2 separate regions of the Homo sapiens genome follow, and region 2 is linked to region 1. Evidence: promoter capture Hi-C in human tissues and cell types (Jung and others, 2019). All regions are on one chromosome and are shown on one strand. The core of a region is centred on a gene start or on the middle of the fragment in contact, and the rest is flanking DNA. Distances in the headings are between cores, read along the strand shown. Region 1 holds the start of SFT2D3 (SFT2 domain containing 3). Region 2 overlaps MYO7B (myosin VIIB).

The links. The method cuts DNA at HindIII sites, captures the fragments that hold promoters and counts their contacts. A contact is called where the count stands out against the background at its distance.
Region 2: a contact is called between a fragment that was not itself captured here and the fragment with the promoter of SFT2D3 in region 1, in 1 of the 25 tissues and cell types used here (H1 embryonic stem cells).

What each region holds. Positions count from the first base shown.
Region 1 is chr2:127,699,609-127,703,172 of GRCh38, forward strand. SFT2D3 (SFT2 domain containing 3) reads left to right here and starts at 1,889. Exons shown (of 1, transcript NM_032740.4): 1 at 1,889-3,564. The coding sequence starts at 1,921. The coding sequence ends at 2,568. WDR33 (WD repeat domain 33) reads right to left here. Exons shown (of 22, transcript NM_018383.5): 22 at 1,419-3,564. RefSeq lists enhancers at 411-1,610, 605-1,126, 838-1,207, 1,127-1,648 and a silencer at 1,968-2,647. The HindIII fragment of the contact is 9,833 bases long and covers 1-3,564 here.
Region 2 is chr2:127,566,473-127,570,036 of GRCh38, forward strand. MYO7B (myosin VIIB) reads left to right here. Exons shown (of 48, transcript NM_001393586.1): 5 at 171-355; 6 at 3,317-3,438. The region is part of intron 1 of LOC105373609 (a long non-coding RNA gene); the gene reads right to left. Among named protein-coding and RNA genes, the nearest start is that of MYO7B, 33 kb to the left of the region's middle. The HindIII fragment of the contact is 4,339 bases long and covers 1-3,564 here.

The sequences.
Region 1 (3,564 bases), core at 639-3,138:
TATAAAATGAGCAGCACACTCCTGCCTTTTCTATACGGTAGCTGCATAAATGATTAGGTAACATCACTGATGGGCATTTATGCACCCAGTCCACTTTCTAGCTCTGTGTATTTGACTACTCTAAGTACCTCACAGAAGTGGAATCATGCAGTATTGGTCCTTTTTGTGACTGGCTTATTTCCCTCAGCCTAATGTCCTCAAGGTTCATCCATGTCGTAGCATGTGTCAGAATCTCCTTCCTTTTTAAGGCTGCGTAACAGTCCGTTGTATGCATATATCACATTTTATTGATCTGCTGGTGGACACTTGGGTTGCTTCCATCTCTTGACTGACATGAATAGTTCTGCTGTGAAGAGTTATACAAATCTCTGAGACCCTGCTTTCAATTCTTTGGGGTATATATCCAGAGTGGAACTGCTGGATTGGATTGTAATTATATACACACATACACACATAACTGTATACAAATATGTGTGTATATACGTTTATATGTGTCTGTGTGTGTGTGTGTGTATATATATATATATATATTTTTTTTTTATAGTAACTTCCATACTGTTTTCCACAGCGGATATAGCATTTTACATTCCCACCAACGGTGCACAAGGCTTCTAGTTTCTCCACATCCTTGACAGCACTTGTAACTTTCTGGTGTGTTTTTGTTTTTTTGTTTTGATTGTAGCCATCCTAATGGTTTAGCCCATGCTAAGTGATCAGGCTGGTCACTATTATTATCAAGTGAGATAACAAATCAGAATATATTTTGAAAAAGAATTGCATCTGCCAGGATCCAACCAAGAAAACAGAAAGCATTAAAAGGAACTTAATGGGGGAGATTAGTTACACACAGGGGATGGAAAGGCTGAGAAGCCAAACAGCAGGAAGCCGTTAACCTTACATCCACCTAGGGCAGAGGACAAAGGACACAGGGCCACCCAGGGGAAGCCAAGGTGGTGAGGGGAGCTGTGGAGGCAGCTGGAAGAATCTGGAGGAATCTGACCTGTGAGAGGAACCACAAGCAAACACCCTCTAGGAGGCTCTGAGAAACAGCAGGGCACGTGGGTGCGGCCTGGGAACAGATCAGGATTGACCTGCGTGCGAGCCAGCTTGTCACAGTGATGTGACGATGAGTCAGGACACCTGGGCGTGGCGCTGTCCAGAGCACGAGAGTGACACCAAACACATGGGACAGCAGCACCGAGTCTTGGACAAGGGGCGCGAAGGAGTCAAGGATGTTGCCAGGCCTGTGGCCGAAACTGAGAACAGAATAGAGAAGCAGGTTGAGGGTGCTGGGTGTCAACCCTTCCTTTATCAACCCCATGGTAAATGATCAGGATGGTCACTATTACTACAAGTGAGGTAACTAATCAGAACGCAACTTTCCCCAAAAAACCCACCTGAGTTACACAGGTCTGAACTTTTTTAAAAATTAAATTTTTATTTTGAGATCACTGTTTGTGTTCAGTTGTAAGAAACAAGAGAGATTCTGTGTACCCTTTACCCATTCCTCCATGTTGCAAAACTAGCACAATATCACCGCCACGGTAGACGCAGTGAGGCCATAAGACATTTCCGTCAGCAAAAGGGTCACTTCTTGTGCCCCTTTAGAACCACACCCACCCCTGCCTTCCAACTATTAATGCTGGCAGGACTTAGCCAGACCGCAAGGGCGCCTACTCCGAACAAGGAAGAGGGTCAGGCGCTGGGAGGGCGACTGCAAGCGGACAGGCAGCACCTGCGACCACGGTACTTGGGGACACCACAAAAGTCCGCAGAGCAGGCACCGCGGCACTTCCGCGAGCGCCGCAGGCCCTGCCCCTTTCGCCGTCGCCGACCAATTGCCGCCCGAAGACCGAACCGCTTCAGCGGAGGGCCGGAAGTGAGCCGCAGCTTTTCCTTTCTGCCACCGCCTTGTCCAAGATGGCGGACCTCCACCGCCAGCTGCAGGAGTACCTGGCGCAGGGGAAAGCTGGCGGCCCGGCGGCCGCGGAGCCGCTGCTCGCCGCGGAGAAGGCGGAGGAGCCCGGGGACCGGCCGGCGGAGGAGTGGCTGGGCCGCGCGGGCTTGCGCTGGACGTGGGCGCGGAGCCCTGCGGAGTCGGCAGCGGCCGGCCTGACGTGCCTCCCGAGCGTGACGCGCGGGCAGCGGCTGGCGGCGGGCGGCGGGTGCCTGCTGCTGGCTGCACTGTGTTTCGGCCTAGCCGCGCTCTACGCACCGGTGTTGCTGCTGCGCGCGCGCAAGTTCGCGCTGCTCTGGTCACTGGGCTCGGCGCTGGCGTTGGCGGGAAGCGCGCTGCTGCGGGGCGGCGCGGCGTGCGGACGCCTGCTGCGCTGCGAAGAAGCGCCGTCCCGGCCCGCGCTGCTCTACATGGCAGCGCTGGGCGCCACGCTGTTCGCCGCGCTGGGCCTTCGCAGCACGCTGCTCACGGTGCTGGGCGCGGGCGCGCAGGTGGCCGCGCTGCTGGCCGCGCTGGTTGGGCTGCTGCCCTGGGGCGGCGGCACCGCGCTGCGCCTCGCACTGGGTCGCCTGGGCCGCGGCGCCGGCCTCGCCAAGGTGCTGCCCGTGTGAGGACCTCGCGCCCTCGCCGCTGGGGAAGTACGCGGAGCCAGCGCCGTCGGAGACCGCGCCGGCCGAGCTGAGGACTGCACGCCGCTGTGCGGAAGCCCGTGGCGAAGGCCCTGCCCTAACAGCCTGCGAGTCTAATCCGGGAGCGGCTGCTGCCAGCGGAGGCGACAGCAGCGTTGGGAGCTCCTCGATGTCAGCTTTTTGTGCTGGACTTGGCACACGCTCTGAAAACTGAGATTTTGTCATTGAACTGGTGACAGGATGTGAGACGGTTATTAGAAGTTGCTTTCGAAGTAACTGTGGTCTTAGGTTCGGCTGAGTAAAGAAAAAGGATTTTTCTTCGAGTTAGCTGCTCTTGTGATTTTTCTCAGGCTGTTTTGTCATTTTAAAATCCAGTGGTAGATGTAGCTTAGCGACGGTAGTTTTTTGTTTTGGCTATACTAAGACTTGGAAATTATTCTCTCCAGTGTCAGCGAATCCAGAAGGGTATCAGATTAAACACCGAATTCAGCCACTGGACTTTTAAAAGTACTTAAGATGGTTTATCTCGGGTTTTTTCTTCAGTTAACAAAATCATAAATATGGTGCCTTATAACATGAAAGGAAAATTAGTTGTGTATTTCACGACGAAAGCGACGGACCAAAAGAAATTTCCTGCCCCAAGAAGCATGGGATCCAGGAAGGGGCGCGTAGATGCTTAACGGTCTCTTCGGAAATCCTGCAAATAGAAAGATAATTCTAGATCCGGAATACCTGTATCTGGTGGAAACCATGGATTTCTACAAGCTCGAATTATTCCTCATTGTATAGCCTGCTTTGTAAACTAGTTTACAATTTGCAGGCTGATCTTAAGATTTTTTTATATCTAATTGCTGCTGCCTTCATTTTAGGTTCAGCAGTTACTTTTAACTACCTTAATTTATTGCCAGAAGGTATGAGCCTAACATTCTGATGAGTCCAGAAAACTACGTTTTGTCAGTAGCAATACACTAGGAAGTA
Region 2 (3,564 bases), core at 380-2,879, 130 kb before region 1:
GCGCAGCTGAATGTCTGATCTCCCTGGCCCAGAATCAGATTCTACTTCCCCACCAAAGTCAGTGGCCCTGATAACCCCGAGGGCAGAGCCAGAGCCAAGGCCAAGGCCAAGGCCAGGGCCGAGTACCTCTGCCAGGGGCAGAGGGCACTGACCACCTGCTTCCTTCCCAGACATACACAGGCTCCATCCTGGTGGCCGTCAACCCGTTCCAGGTGCTGCCGCTCTACACCCTGGAGCAGGTACAGCTCTACTACAGCCGCCATATGGGCGAGCTGCCCCCGCATGTCTTTGCCATCGCCAACAACTGCTACTTCAGCATGAAGAGGAACAAGAGGGACCAGTGCTGCATCATCAGGTGAGGCAGAGGGGTCAGGCACCACCTCCAGGCATCTCCCTGAACTGCTCCCCACCAGCATGCCTGCAAGATCAGGCGAGATGAGAGCTCTCCCTACTCCATGGCACACACCCATCTCCACAGCACACAACGGCCCCAGTTACCCTGCACCCCGAGCAGTTCCCCCAAAGCTTCCTTCCTTCAGAACCTAGGCTTTCATCGTGTCACCAGGGACTGGACTGCCCAGCTTTTAATAAAGGTTTACTGAGTCAAGGAAGGAAGTTGGGCTGGGTTCCTTTAGAAATGGGCCCCAGGAGTCGGGCATAGTAGCTCATGCCTATAATCCCAGGGACTTGGGAGGTCAAAGGAGGAGGATTGCTTGAGGCCAGAAGTTTGAGACCAGCCTAGACAACATAGCAAGACCCTCTCTCTGTAAAAATAAAAAAAGAAAAAGATATGGGACCCAGGTTAGGCACTTAAAGCTGCAGGAGTTGAACAGGTGAGGGCCCACTCAAAAAAAAACACAGGGCAGGCCTCAGGTGAGGACAGAGGAGCAGCAGCTCCAGGGGACAGCTCTCAGTTCACTAGGGGACCAGAAGGAAAGTGTCCCCTCCAGTCCAGGTCCTGACTGCTTCAGAGACTCCCTGCCTGGCCTGGCCTCTCTACCAGTGACCACAGACCCTGAGAACTTGGAGGGGAGGGTGTGGCAGGCTGGCCACGGGGATGGAAGCCACCCCTCAGGGGAGTCTGCACCCGTTGTTCCAGGAACACTGGATCCTAGCAGAGAACTTTGGTGTCCTCAGCCCCATGCACCCCAACTCAGTCCATGGCGTGGATGACATGATCCACCTGGGGGATTCATTCATTCATTCATTCATTCATTCAATCATTTGAGGTTTTGTCATGCCCCAACTGAGTGCCCCCAACTGTCCTAACATGGTGAGGCAGCAGCTAACAAAAGGGACCAGAATCCCTTCCTCAGGGAGCTTATATTCTAGAAGCGGAGACAGACAGGCAACAAATAAGTGCGTTTTTATGTAGGTCCTAACAGCTTTGAAGAAAAACACAGCAGGGGAGAGGAAAGGGTGATGTCGGCCTCTTCATTAGATAGGGGGCAGGCCAGGCACGGCCTCTCTGAGGAGGGATGTTGAACAGAGACCAGAATGAAGTCCTAAGGCACAGGTGATCACATTTCATGTCCTCAGCAACCCTCTGAAAGAGATGCTCTTATTCCCATGATATGGTCTCATGTTACTGCTGGAGAGACCTACAATCAGAGGGGCTGAGATCCTGTTCCAGTGGTACACAGCAGTGAAGTGGGAAATTCAAACCCAGGGCTCTGGAGAAGACAGCAGACAGGTACTCTGGGAGAAAGCTGGAACTCCCAACCTGCCCCCAGAGGCAGGGCAAGAGGCCCCTCAGCAGAGCTGGGCCGCAGGCTGGCTGGCCAGGGAGCTTACGGTGTGGCTCTACCTGGAGGTTGGCGGGGCTGGCAGTGTGAACAAGGAGAGGAAAGAGCCCCCTGATTTTGGTTCCTTGCAGTGAGCAGAATGTCACTTGTCACTTTGAATCAAATTGCATTCTCCTCCTGCCCTTTCCTCCCCCAGGGCTGTGGGCAAGTCCCCTTAAGCCCCTGTCTCTACAATGGCAGGTTATTTGATGAGCTCGTGTTTATAAAAACGCCTGGCGCTTGACAGGCACTCAGGGGAGTCCACAGCTATCACTGGAGGTTTGTTGATCTCACTCTGCTTTGCTGGCATAGTGATTGTGGGTATTTTGATCATAACTTTTAAAAAAGGTAATATTTTGGCCGGGTGCGGTAGCTCACGCTTGTAATCCCAGCACTTTGGGAGGCTGAGGCAGGTGGATCACCTGAGGTCAGGAGTTCAAGACCAGCCTGGCCAACATGGTGAAACCCCGTCTCTACTAAAAATATAAAAATTAGCCAGGCTTGGTGGCCGACGCCTGTAATCTCAGCTACTCAGGAGGGTGAGGCAGGAGAATTGCTGGAACTGGAGTGGGCGGAGGTTGCAGTGAGCTGAGATCGTGCCATTGCACTCCAGCCCAGGCCAACAACAGCAAGACTCCGTCTCAAAAAAAAAAAAAGACAGTATTTTCAGGCCAAGCACGGTGGTTTATGCCTGTAATCCCAGCACTTTGGGAGGCCGAGGCGGGCAGATCATCTGAGGTCAGGAGTTTGAGACCAGACTGGTCAACATGGTGAAACCTTATCTCTACTAAAAATATAAAAATTACCTGGGTGTGGTGGCAGCCACCAGTAATCCCAGCTACTCAGGAAGCTGAGGCATGAGAATCACTTGCACCCAGGAGGTGGAGGTTGCAGTGAGCCGAAATCATGCCACTGTACTCCAGCCTGGGTGACAGAGTGAGACTCCGTCTCAAAAAAAAAAAAAAAAAAAAGGTAATATTTTCAGATGAAGCAACATCTGGGATTTGCTTTAAAATAGTACAGGACGGGAAACAAAATTGGCCGGGAGTTGAAGCTGGATAATGGGACTGTGGGAGTCTGTTTTGCAAACTCCAAAGTGCAGGAATCCTCTGGGGATCTGGTGAAAATGCAGATTCTGATCAACAGAGCCTGTGTGACCTGGGCATCTGCATTCCGAGCCTGCTGCTGGCCTGTGGGCCACCCTTTCATTAGGAAGACACTGAGTCATCTCACTCAGTCTTCTGTACGTCCTGGGCACTGTGGTGCTGACCCTGGAATGAATCAGATCCGAGTGTGCCAAGGAACTTGCAGCCAAGCACAGAAGAAAAGACAAACACAATAACATGTACAACACAGGCAGCCTGAGACCCACAGGGGATTTCAGGGCTTCAGTGCAGTGGGATTTCTGCAGGGGAGAGGCCATCCCTGTCAGACTGGCTCAGAAAGCAGGACTGGGGTTTGCAGGAGAGTTGAGAGGTGTTGAAAAAAATAGTCGTTTTGTGGCATCATGTCCCTGCACACCCTTTTTGCAGCGGCGAGTCTGGGGCTGGCAAGACGGAGACCACCAAGCTCATCCTGCAGTTCCTGGCCACCATCAGTGGCCAGCATTCGTGGATTGAGCAGCAGGTCCTGGAAGCCAACCCCATCCTGGAGGGTAAGCATCACTCTGGGACCCGCCCTTCTCCCCCAGCCCCCCTGGAGCCTTCCTGCCAGGTAGGACCATGGGGAGGGACAGGATAGGCCACAAACCTTCAGCAACTCCTCCAGACCCTTGGGACAC